Linked DNA regions of Homo sapiens: regions 2 and 3 are each linked to region 1. The links are contacts of gene promoters, found by promoter capture Hi-C in human tissues and cell types (Jung and others, 2019). All regions are on one chromosome and are shown on one strand. The core of a region is centred on a gene start or on the middle of the fragment in contact, and the rest is flanking DNA. Distances in the headings are between cores, read along the strand shown. Region 1 holds the start of ADAMTS7 (ADAM metallopeptidase with thrombospondin type 1 motif 7). Region 2 overlaps LOC124903535 (a long non-coding RNA gene). Region 3 has its middle 13 kb from the start of TRK-CTT1-2.

Evidence for each region. The method cuts DNA at HindIII sites, captures the fragments that hold promoters and counts their contacts. A contact is called where the count stands out against the background at its distance.
Region 2: a contact is called between a fragment that was not itself captured here and the fragment with the promoter of ADAMTS7 in region 1, in 3 of the 25 tissues and cell types used here (mesenchymal stem cells, mesendoderm cells and ovary).
Region 3: a contact is called between a fragment that was not itself captured here and the fragment with the promoter of ADAMTS7 in region 1, in 3 of the 25 tissues and cell types used here (hippocampus, mesendoderm cells and thymus).

The regions. Positions count from the first base shown.
Region 1 is chr15:78,808,636-78,812,713 of GRCh38, forward strand. ADAMTS7 (ADAM metallopeptidase with thrombospondin type 1 motif 7) reads right to left here and starts at 2,829. Exons shown (of 24, transcript NM_014272.5): 1 at 2,486-2,829. The coding sequence starts at 2,585. RefSeq lists a silencer at 2,857-3,276. The HindIII fragment of the contact is 14,119 bases long and covers 1-4,078 here.
Region 2 is chr15:78,863,275-78,867,352 of GRCh38, forward strand. LOC124903535 (a long non-coding RNA gene) reads left to right here. Exons shown (of 2, transcript XR_007064727.1): 2 at 1-946. It also overlaps the pseudogene RPL21P116. Among named protein-coding and RNA genes, the nearest start is that of TRK-CTT1-2, 4.8 kb to the left of the region's middle. The HindIII fragment of the contact is 3,939 bases long and covers 206-4,078 here.
Region 3 is chr15:78,845,504-78,849,581 of GRCh38, forward strand. No RefSeq gene overlaps it. Among named protein-coding and RNA genes, the nearest start is that of TRK-CTT1-2, 13 kb to the right of the region's middle. The HindIII fragment of the contact is 5,610 bases long and covers 1-4,078 here.

The DNA of each region.
Region 1 (4,078 bases), core at 1,579-4,078:
CTAGTTGACCTCACTCAGTAGAGATGTTGGTGGCTGAAACTAGCACCACCCAGTGCCAGCAAGGAGTAATTGCAGGTTCCAGTCTCGACCGGTTATGTGCTTGCAACAAAGCTGAGCCTGCAGAGTTCAAGTGACAGTGGGATGGCAACAGGCACCATTCAAGAGGACTGCCAGAGATTCATGGCCAAATCTATTCTGCCAAGTCAGGAGGTCTGTTCTGATTGGACCAAGCTCCTGCCACATTGGGTGTTAAATACTTTTAATATCTCCCCTGGGTGACAGAACTGTCACTTTGGAGCTTCTACCAAAGAAATGCCAAGATGGTGTTTACCCTCACCTCCCTATCAAGAACCTGAGTTACAATCCAGCCCTTCAAATGACCCACAGCTCATGCCAAGGAGGAAAAATAACTGGCAGGGTGGGGGGTAGTATGTGAATGCCCTCCTCTGTGAGTTCTAGTATGCACAGAAACACATGCACACAGAGTTCACATGTGCCATACGGCATGAGGAGGACACATGACTGGGCTCCAGCCTCAGAAACCCTAGCAGGTCCCTGGGTCAGTCACAAGTGGGGAAAAGGGATATATTTTCCTAAAAGTGAGCCCAGGATGAGCCCTTTGGTCTTAAAGAAGGTAACATTCAGTGGTAGGAGGAGCCCCAGGCTTAGGTCCTGGGCTTCAAAGAAAATGACAAACAGGCCAGCAGCCTCAGAGTCACCAATCCTGAGGGAGTGCAGAACAGGAAGGACCCCATGCTCTATATCTATGGGAACACTAGAGACAGACTTCACCCTTGGAGTGTTTGTGCCCAGATTAGGTTGGAGAGAGTGCCTGGCCTGCCTCCACCCTCAAACAGCAGGTCCAGGTCATCTGGGGAGTCCTGGGTCGGCCTGGCAGATTAATAAAAATAATGACCACTACATTGTAGTCACTGTGTCCTGCCTGAGCAACTGACATATTCAATATCTCATTTAATCCTCATAAGAATCCCACGAGGTTGACCGCACCCAACTCTTCCCACAGCTGCCAGGGGGCCAGGACCCAAGTCCTGAGGGAAGCATTTTCCTGCTCTCCCATTCCCATCGCCCGGTTCATCCTCCTCAGCCCCCAGCTCTGGACAGTGGAAAACACAAGCCTCATTCAGGAAGCTCAGGAGTCCAACCCCACAGGTCGCTCTACTCTGAGCCTGTTTGCTGGTCCATAAAAGGACTTTCCATCACTTGCTTTGCACGGTTGTTGTGGAGATGATGAGAAATAAGAACCCGTGAGGCTGGCACACAGTAGGTGCTCATTAAATGTTCGCTCCCTCTGCGCTCTGCGCATGGCTGCTAGACCAAATCTTTCCAAAACACTGCTTTCATCAGCTGCTCCCCTCAACGGCTTCCCAAACCTCTAAGATCAAGAGTCAATGTCCCCATCCTTCCCGCCCAGACTACTTTCTCGTCACAATCCCTCCAGTGGGGAGGCAGGTCGACCCCATCCCAGCAAGCAACCCTAATCCAGTCCCCCGACTGATGCTCCCCAGGGGAGGGCCCCACTCCCTCCACGCCCTTCTAGCTCATCCAGAATCCATCCATCCTTCCAGTCTCTCCAACCTCATGCCCCTCCTCTCCTACAAAGCCTGCCGGTCGGCTCTATTGCAGGACTCTCCCCACTATCCACCGGCTCCCCTGACTGGGAGCTCCCTGAGCACCGGGCCTGGGGTCTCCTACATCCTCGGTTACTGAATTCCCAGGCCGGCTGCGTCGGACGCGCCAGCAGCGCGGCCGCCCGGCAGGTCGCCGCCAAACAAGAGTCTGGACGCAGGCCAGAGGCTCGTCGGAGGCCGGCCCGGCGGGGCGGGGAGAGTTAACCCATGGCCGGGAAAAGAAGCTCCTGCTCCCCGCTCCACTCCCGGCGTCTTCACACTTGGGGAAGGGAGAGGCAGGAAGTGCAAGGACCGCGCAAGACCCGGCCCCCCGAGCCGCCAGGGGCCGCGCCAGCAGCCCAGATGCGGTGGGCGGGAGCTGGGGGGGCGGCGGGGTCCCGCGAAGACCTGCGACCTGGCGCCCTCGCCGGCTGTGTCCCGGCCAGCCCGCTTTCCAGGCGAGCCTCGCTAAGGAGTGTGAGAAACCAAATCCTCAGTGGGTAAACCGCGCTCCGTCCAGCCCACTCGGACGAGAGCTCTCCCGGGAGCCAGGCGCGTTGCTGCACCCGAGGTGGGGAAACCGGAGCCCGAAGAGCGGAAGGGGCTTATTCCAGGCGACAGGCAGTGTCAGTAACTGAATCAGGGGCCGAGGAAGTTTCCCCAGAAGCGCGGCTTCGCTCCCGGCCCGGCCCGACCCCGACTACTGTCCCCTAATACCCAGGGAGCGGAAGACGCGACCAACTCCAGGCACAGCGGAGCCGGCGCGGGGTCCACAAAGGTGAGGAGGGACAAAACCGAGACTGGGGGAGCGGGAAGGGGTGGCAGGCCCGGCTGGCCGGGGAGGGGCGGACACCCACCTGGTGCGGGTCCGGGGGCGCCGGGAGCCAGAGCGCAGAGGAGCAGGAGGAGGGGGCGCAGCAAAGGCGCGGGGCTGCGGGGACTGGGGCCGCCGGGCATGGCAGGAACCGGGCGGCCGCCGGGTGACCCCGCGCGCACGCTCTCGTCCGTCCCGTCCGGTCGCTGCCTGGTCCCAGGTCCGGCTCAGGACATGCCCGGCCGGCGTGCAGCTCCCGGCGACCCGGCCCCGACTCCGTTCGGCTGCGCTCGGTCCGCGGGCAACAAAGGCTGCAGGGCCCGCCCCCTTGGCCGCTGCAGAGGCAAAGAAAAGACAAGAGAGCTAGAAGGAGAGAAAGAAAGAAAGAAAGAAAGGGAGGGAGAGTGAGGGAGGGCGGCTGCCGGCCCCCGCCCCGCCCCTCGGACTCCTTCCCCCGCCCCTGGCCCCGCCCCGCCCCGGCCGGCCCCGGCCTCATCGGCCCCGCAGGCCGTGCTCGCCTCAAGGGCTGGCCGGCCCGGCGCAGGCAGCGCCCCGCAACGGATGTCCGCCCCCCTCGCCCCCCTGTCCCGAGCGCCCCCTGCCGGCGGAGCCCTGCCAGGCCTTTCCGACCCCGGCCGGTTGAGGACCCCCGGAAAGAATCTGGAATTTCCAGAATTAATGTGTTGTCCCTAAATTGGGCTCCACGAGGTGCCCTTCGCTGTGTTCCCCAGGCCAAGCAGGGCAGCCCCTCAAAAGGGGACGCGGGAGGCCTCCAGAGGGCCACACCGGGGGCCCTGCTTCAAAGCTATCTGCGGAGACAGGCCTGGGCCCTCCCTGGACAGACAGCGGTTGCCCGCGCGAGGTGGGGCCCCGCAGTTCCTCGTCTCCTGACTCCTCTCCTAGTGCGTTTGCTTGAAGCAGAGCGCAGAGTTGAGCCCACAGGCGGGGGACCGCGGCTTCGCCCAGGCCAGCGCCCACAGACTTTCAGCAGGGGCTCCCGGGGAGCCTGGAGGCCGGCCAACCCCAGCCTCACATCCCAGGCCAGCCTCCGCCTCCAACACCGGCCGTCTGTCCTTCGTGGCCCCAGCCCTGGCTCTGGCTTCCGGCTCCCCTTCCCCCTGTGCTCCCAGGAGCTTCCTTTCTCCCTTCTGCCGTCACTAAACATGGCCCTGTACCGAGGACGCCCGTCTTGTCCTCGGGGCGGTTGCGGTCAGCTTCCTCCCCTTGGTTAGTCTTTGTGTGCCCCCTGCCCTCTGAGGCCCGCACACCTCCTCATTGTCCAATCTCCTGGGCCCTTTCATTCAATTCCTGGAAGCTCACTTCTGGCTTCCTCTCCACCCTCAACCTGTCTGTCCTCTAGGGAATTTGTGTAGTACAGGGTCACCTACTTCCTCCATCTCATCTCCAGTGACCTTCCACTCCACCTCAGCCATCAGGTCTCAGGGCCAAAGCCTGGGCTGTGTCATCCCTCAGAACTGCTCCATCTTGGAAATCCGAAGCTCAGGTGCCCCCCTGTCAGACCCGACTCTGCAGTCCTTTCCACCTTCACAGTCCCACTATGTATTGCTCTTCCTCCAGTCCCTTGATACCTTCCTCTTCGCCCAACCTACCAGCCCCTCCTGGCTTCACCTACTTC
Region 2 (4,078 bases), core at 925-3,424, 54 kb after region 1:
TCCAGCAGCTCAGGCTCCTTCGCATTGGTTCTCACAAAGTGTGCTTCTCTGGGTGGAGCAGGCTGGTGCTTCTGTTGAACCCAGGTACCTTTCTATTTGGCTTCCTTCTTTTTCTGATCATTTTCCTTCATGTGTTTCAGGAAACTATCTCAGCTTTTAGAGTGCTTAATGTGCTCAATACGCACATTAATTCTCTTGGCAAGAATCTTGCCCTTAACTTGTGTGTTTACAACAATGCCAACAGCATGCTGGGGGACATTATAGACTCTTCCAGTTTTGCCATGGTAACACTTGTGGGGCATTCCTTTTTGAACAGTACCCATTCCCTTGATGTCTACAATATCACCTTTCTTATAGATTTGCATATACGTGGCCAAAGCAACAACTCCATGTTTTCTAAAAGGCCTAGAGAACATATATTGGGTGCCTCTCCTCTTTCCCTTTGTGTTCGTCATTTTGGCGAATTACTGGAAGATGGCGGTTCCGGCTGAAAGGAACAAGCTTAATCTTAATGGATATTTTTTCTTATTTTGGCTGATGATTCATTATGTTGAGTAGTGACTTATTACTATTTGTACTAAAAAATGCAAAGATATACAACGTCAAATACATTTTATTCTCCCATGGAACTCATATTTGAAGATGTTATGTTCAATTAATCTATAAATGAACACTTTAAGACAGTGTGCTAATTTAATGCAGTCCAGTTTCTTCAACAAGTAAATGGCAAAAAAAGAGACAGAGATACCTTAATGGAATGAAATGTGTGGACTTTGTTTCCATCTTGATTTGAACCAGTCATAAAGAAACATGTATGAGACAATCAGGGAATCTGAACACAGACTGGGTACTTGAAGATAAGGAGTTATTTGCAATTAAATGCAACAACGTCATTTAGAGATACATACTAAATTGTTTATGAATAAAAAAGACATGATCTCTGGAATCTGTGTATATGCATTTTTCGGGGGAGAGGAATGAAGAGATACCAATGAAACAAGATTGGCCACATGTTAATAACTGTAGAAGCTGAGTGACCCATACAACAGAGTTCATTACACTATCACCTCTGCTATTGTATATGTTTACATTTTTCCATAAATTTAAATATCATTAGATTCTGCAAAAACAAAAGTGTCTTAACCTCTGTAGCTCAGTGATCACACTTAGCATCACTAACAGTGGGACAACCAGATATCATGTGCCTGCTGATGTAATGCAATGAGAACTGCACAGCATCACCTTTAAAATAATCTTGTCAAAACACTCAACTTAGATCTAATCAAGTCTTTAGACCTAACTTTACATTTATAGGAAATGTAAATAACAAGTAACACCGTGAGTAAATAATCAGGTGAACCCAGAATGTCAGACATTCAACAAAGGCCTGGGCTCTTCAGAAAGCAAATACTAATACTAAACAAAGACTAATACCACTACTAATAAAGGCTATGTGTGTGGGGGCAGACTGTATTTGAGCCAAAGGCTTCCCCTCCAGCCCCACTGACAGTCTGGTGAAGCCAATGAATTCTTTTCTCAGAATGTCTTAAATGCATGAAATAAAAAACAGGATCATTAAAAAATAGGTTTTTTTTTTTTTTGAGACGGAGTTTTGCTGTTGTTGCCCAGGCTGCAGTGCAATGGCGCGATCTTGGCTCACCGCAACCTCCGCCTCCCAGGTTCAAGCGATTCTCCTGCCTCAGCCTCCCAAGTAGCTGGGATTACAGGCATGTGTCACCACGCCTGGCTAATTTTGTACTTTTAGTAGAGACGGGGTTTCTCCATGTTGGTCAGGCTGGTCTCAAACTCCTGACCTCAAGTGATCTGCCCGCCTCGGCCTCCCAAAGTGCTGGGATTACAGGTGTGAGCCACCACACCCGGAGAAATATAGTTATCAAAATATTTTAAAGTACAATATGGAATACACATGTTCCATTATTAATGCACTAAATAACAAGATCTAGCAGCAGGTCCAATAACTACAATAGTTTTATTTTATTTATTTATTTAGAGACAGGGTCTTGCTCTGTCACCCAGGCTGGAGTGCAGTGGTACAATCTCAGCTCACGGCAACCTCCACCTCCTGAGTTCAAGCCATTCTCCTGCCTCAGCATCCCGAGTAGCTGGGATTACAGGCATGCACCACCACACCCAGCTAATTTTTGTATTTTTAGTAGAGACGGGATTTCACCATGTTGGCCAGGCTGGTCTTGAACTCCTGACCTCGTGATCCGTCTGCTTCGGCTTCGCAAAGTGCTGGGATTACAAGCGTGAGCCACTGCGCCTGGCCAACTATAATAGTTTTAAAGTAGTGATGAATATAAATGATATTTCTGAGATATTTTCATTAGCCGTAATGTGATATGAAAACTTCTGTAATTTATATTGATGACAAAGCCACAGCTCATAGTATTGTACTTCGTTATCTTCATTTGTAATGGAAGGAAATGCTAAATTTTTTTTTTTTTTTGAGATGGAATCTTGCTCTGTTGCCCAGGCTGGAGTGCAGTGGCGCAATCTCAGCTCACCGGAAGCTCTGCCTCCCAGGTTCACAGCATTCTCCTGCCTCAGCCTCCAGACTAGCTGGGACTACATGCGCCCACCACCACGCCTGGCTAATTTTTGGTATTTTTAGTAGAGATGGAGTTTCACTGTGTTCGCCATGATGGTGATGGTGTTGATCTCCTGACCTTGTGATCCGCCCGCCTCGGCCTCCCAAAGTGCTTGGATTACAGGCATGAGCCACTGTACCCGGCCTAGGAAATGCTAAATTTTAATTAGAATTTGGTGAAAATAAAAATGTAATTTTTGCCTCATCCAACTTCATGGACCCTTTGAATTGTATCCACAGACTCCTAACTTAAGAACTTCTGCTCTACGTTTAAAAAGACAAGAGATTTGGCCAGGCACGGTGGCTCGTGCCTGTAATTCCAGCACTTTGGGAGGCTGGGGGAGGTGGATCACTTGAGGTCAGGAGTTTAAGACCAGCCTGGCCAACGTGGTGAAATCCCGCCTCTACTAAAAATACAAAAATTAGCTGGGCGTGGTGGTGTGTGTCTGTAATCCCAGCTACTCTGAGGCAGAATGGCTTGAACCCAGGAGGCGGAGGTTACAGTGAGCCGAGATTTGAGACTCTGTCTCAAAAAAAAAACAGAACAAACAAACAAAAAAACAAGAGATTGCTCAGTTCTGGGGCATAATTAAAAAAAAAAAAAGAGATTGTAGCCAGGAGTGGTGACTCACACCTGTGACCCCAGCACTTTGGGAGGCTGAGGCGGGCAGATCACCTGAGGTCGGGAGTTCGAGACCAGCCTGACCAACATGGAGAAATCCCATCTCTACTAAAAATACAAAAATTAGCCAGGCATAGTGGCGCATGCCTGTAATCTCAGCTACTCAGGAGGCTGAGGCAGGAGAATTGCTTGAACCCGGGAGGCGAAGGTTGCAGTGAGCCGAGATTGTGCCATTGCACTCCAGCTTGGGTAACAAGAGTGAAGCTCCGTCTCAAAAAAAAAAAAAATTTAACAATCAAATGTAATACATTGTTATTTAATAGGTCTTGTTTTGAAAAAAGGAGGACACAAACAAGCGAGGAAATCTGGAGTGAGTACTGCATAATTTTAGGAAACTATTGTTATTCCCTATTGACATAGGTTTCTAATAGCAACAACTTGAAAGCAGACTGCATGTTATTGTGCTGGATGTGATATGGTATTGTGGCATGTAGAGAATGCTTATTTTGGAAGTACATACTAAAGAAACCAGGTGTGAATGGTTATTATGTGTTTACACACACACACACCCCACATAAATATGTCAATATAAGGCACATCCGGGGAAATGTTCACAGTTGTTTAACGGAGGTGATAAAAAATGTCTTTTTCTTCTTCTTCTTTTTTTTTTTCCTGAGATGGAGTCTTGCTCCGCCGCCCAGGCTGGAGTGCAGTGGCACAATCTCGGCTCACTGCAACCTCTGCCTCCCGGGTTCAAATGATTCTCCTGCCTCAGACTCCTGAGTAGCTGGGACTACAGGCATGTGCCACAGCGCCCGGCTAATTTTTATATTTTTAGTAGAGAC
Region 3 (4,078 bases), core at 1,100-3,599, 36 kb after region 1:
ATCCGCCCTCCTTGGCCTTCCAAAGTCCTGGGATTACAGGAGTGAGCCACTGCCCCTGGCTTTTTTTTTTTTTTTTGAGACGGAATCTTGCTCTGTTGCCCAGGCGGGAGTGCAGTGGCACTATCTTGGCTCACTGCAACCTCTCACTTCCCAGGTTCAAGTAATTCTCCTGCCTCAGCCTCCTGAGTAACTGGGATTACAGGTGCACACCACCACGCCTGGCTAATTTTGTATTTAATTTTCTTATTTTAATTTTTTTTTTTTTGTAGATATGGGGTCTTACTATGTTGCCCAAGCTAACCAGCCAGCTTTCTTTTAGTTAGATGTTGTTAGGCATATTTTTATCTGTGTCTATTTTAGGTGTTTCTCTTATAAACTTGGTTTTGTTTTACTTTTAATCCAGCTTGACAATTTTTGTCTTTTACCTTCCTAATTTAGTTCATTCACATTTATTATGGTTTTCACTGTAATGGCTAGATATGTTTCTATCATATTTGATGCTTTATCATTATCTTTGTTTTTCTATGTTTTAATTTCCTCTCTTTTCATTTGGATTTAATTATTTTTCTCATTTCATTTTTTTCCCTCTAGTAGTTTGAGAGTAGTACACTCTATGTTTAGTTTTTTTAATGACTATCCTATAATGTTCAACATTTCTTCTTGAATCTCAAACTTATCGGAGGCTCATTTTCTCTTTTTCTGAACTATTTCCTTTAAACATGTCTTTAGTGAAGGTTTGTTGATAAACTTAATTTTTGTCTGAAAATGATCTGATTTCCTTATCATTCTTGAAATATAGCTTCATTAGTTTAATTGTATGTTGATTGTTCTTTTTATTCCAGCTCTTTGAAGACATTATTCTACTGTCTTCTGGTTTTCCATCCTTGCTTTTGAAAAGTCTGCTATCGATTTAATTGTTTTTTTGTTTTGTTTTGAGGCAGAGTTTCACTCTTGTTGCTCAGGCTGGAGTGCAATGGTACGGTCTCCACTCATTGTACCCTCTACCTCCCGGGTTCAAGCAATTCTCCTGTCTCAGCCTCCCGAGTAGCTGGGGTTACAGGCATGCGCCACCACGCCTGGCTAATTTTTGTATTTTTAGTAGAGACACGGTTTTACCAGGTTGGTCAGGCTGGTCTCAAACTCCTGACCTCAGGTGATCCACCCACCTCGGCCTCCCAAAGTGCTGGTGAGAGGTGACAGCGTGCTGGCAGTCCTCAGAGCCCTCGCTTGCTCTTGGCACCTCCCCTGCCTGGGATCCCACTTTGGCGGCATTTGAGGAGCCCTTCAGCCCCCCACTGCACTGTGGGAGCCCCTTTCTGGGCTGGCCAAGGCTGGAGCCCACTCCCTCAGCTTGCAGGGAGGTGTGGAGGGAGAGGCACGAGCGGGAACCGGGGCTGCGTGCGGCGCTTGTGGGCCAGCTGGAGTTCCAGATGGGCGTGGGCTTGGTGGGCCCCGCACTCGGAGCAGCCAGCCAGCCCTGCTGGTCCTGGGCAATGAGGGACTTAGCACCCGGGCCAGTGGCTGCGGAGGGTGTACTGGGTCCCCCAGCAGTGCCGGCCCACCGGCGCTGTGCTCAATTTCTCGCCAGGCCTTAGATGCCTTCCCGCCGGGCAGGGCTCGGGACCTGCAGCCCGCCATGCCTGAGCCTCCCACCCACTCCATGGGCTCCTGTGCGGCCCGAGCCTCCCCAAGGAGCGCCGCCCCCTGCTCCACCGCGCCCAGTCCCATCGACCACCCAAGGGCTGAGGGGTGCGAGCGCACGGCGCGGAACTGGCAGGCAGCTCCACCTGCAGCCCCCGTGCGGGATCCACTAGGTGAAGCCAGCTGGGCTCCTGAGTCTGGTGGGGACGTGGAGAGTCTTTATGTCTAGCTCAGGGATTGTAAATACACCAATCAGCACCCTGTGTTTAGCTCAAGGTTTGTGAATGCACCAATCGACACTCTGTATCTAGCTGCTCTGGTGGGGCCTTGGAGAACCTTTATGTCGAAACTCTGTATCTAACTAATCTGATGGAGACGTGGAGAACCTTTGTATCTAGCTCAGGGATTGTAAACGCACCAATCAGCCCCCTGTCAAAACAGGCCACTCGGCTCTACCAATCAGCAGGATGTGGGTGGGGCCAGATAAGAGAATAAAAGCAGGCTGCCGGAGTCAGCATTGGCAACCTGCTATTGTCCCCTTCAATACTGTGGAAGCTTTGTTCTTTTGCTCTTTGCGATAAATCTTGCTACTGCTCAGGTCCACGCTGCTTTTATGAGCTGTAACACTCACTGCGAAAATCTGCAGCTTCACTCCTGAGCCTAGCGAAACCACGAGCCCACCGGGAGGAACAAACAACTCCAGACGCGCTGCCTTAAGAGCTGTAACACTCACTGCGAAGGTCTGCACCTTCACTCTTGAGCCAGCAAGACCACGAACCCACCAGGAGAAAACTCCGAACACAACTGAACATCAGAAGGAACAAACTCCAGACGCACCACCTTCAGAGCTGTAACACTCACCGCGAGGGTCCGTGGCTTCATTCTTGAAGTCAGTGAGACCAAGAACCCACCAACTCCAGACACACTGGGATTACAGGTGTGAGCCACCGCGCCCGACTGATTTAATTGTTGTCTTATTTTAGGTAATCTCTTTTTTCTCTCTGGCTGCTTTAAGTTTTTTATTTTTTAAGAGACATGGTCTTGCTCTGTCATCCAAGCTGGAGTACAGTGGCCCAATCACAGAGCATAGCTCACTGCAGCCTCGAACTCCTGAGCCGAAGTGATCCGCTCATTTCAGCCTCTCGAAGAGCTGGGCCTATGAGTGCACACCACCTCATCTGGCTAATTTGTTTTATTTTACTTTTTTTAGACAGAATCTCGCTCTGTCACCCAGGCTGGAGTGCAGTGGTGCGATCTCTGCTCACTGCAAGCTCCACCTCCCGGGTTCATGCCATTCTCCTGCCTCAGCCTCCTGAGTAGCTGGGACTACAGGCACCTGCCACCACGCCGGGGTAATTTTTTTTTGTATTTTTAGTAGAGACAGGGTTTCACCGTGTTAGCCAGGATGGTCTCTATCTCCTGACCTTGTGATCTGCCCAAAGTGACCTCGGCCTCCCAAAGTGCTGGGATTACAGGTGTGAGCCACTGCGCCTAGCTATTTTATTTCATAGAAACAAGGTCTTGCTTTGTTGCTTATGTTGGCCTTGCACTTCTGGGCTCAAGCACCCCTCTTGCCTTGACCTCCCAAAGCGCTGGGATTGCCACAACACCTGGCTCCTTCCCATTTTTGTTAGTCTTTTGTTTCTTACTCATGTTTTCAAGTAGATCTTTTATTTCTTTAAACTAAATGGTATTATAGTTTAATCATAGCAGCTTAAGTTTTATGGGCATAATTCTGCTGTCAGTCATGTCTGTTGATGTCACTTCTGATTGTGAGGTCATGTTTATACACACTTTATATCTAGGAATTCTTTGCCATCTGGGTTGAAGGTAGCCTTCACCAGAGAGATTTTCATTTACTTCTGCTATTTTTAATTAAGATACAGCTTGGGCAGGGCACAGTGACTCAGGCCTGTAATCCTAGCACTTTGGAAGGCAGAGGTGGGCAGATCAGTTGAGGTCAGGAGTTCAAGACCAGCCTGCCCAACATGGTGAATGAAATCCTGTCTCTACTAAAAATACAAAAATTAGCTGGGCGTGGTGGTGTGCACCTGTAGTCCCAGCTACTCAGGAGGCTGAGGCAGGAGAATTGCTTGAACCTGGGAGGCAGATGTTGCAGTGAGCCAAGATCATGCCATTGCACTCCAGCCTGCATGACAGAGCAAGACTGTGTCTCAAAAACAAAAACAGAAGAGCTGGTATTGTTTTGGACCACATCTTAGTACATGAAGTATATGCTTTAGGCCCTAAAACCATAAACCAAAGCCACACTATAGTTATGAATTCTCAACAGGAGATTTTTTTGCCCTGGTTGCCAGGGGCTGGGAGGAACTATGAAGAAAATGGTATAAAATTAGGTAGTGGTGGTGATTACACACACACACACACACACACACACACTAAAAACCATTGAATTGTACAATTTAAACAGTTTATT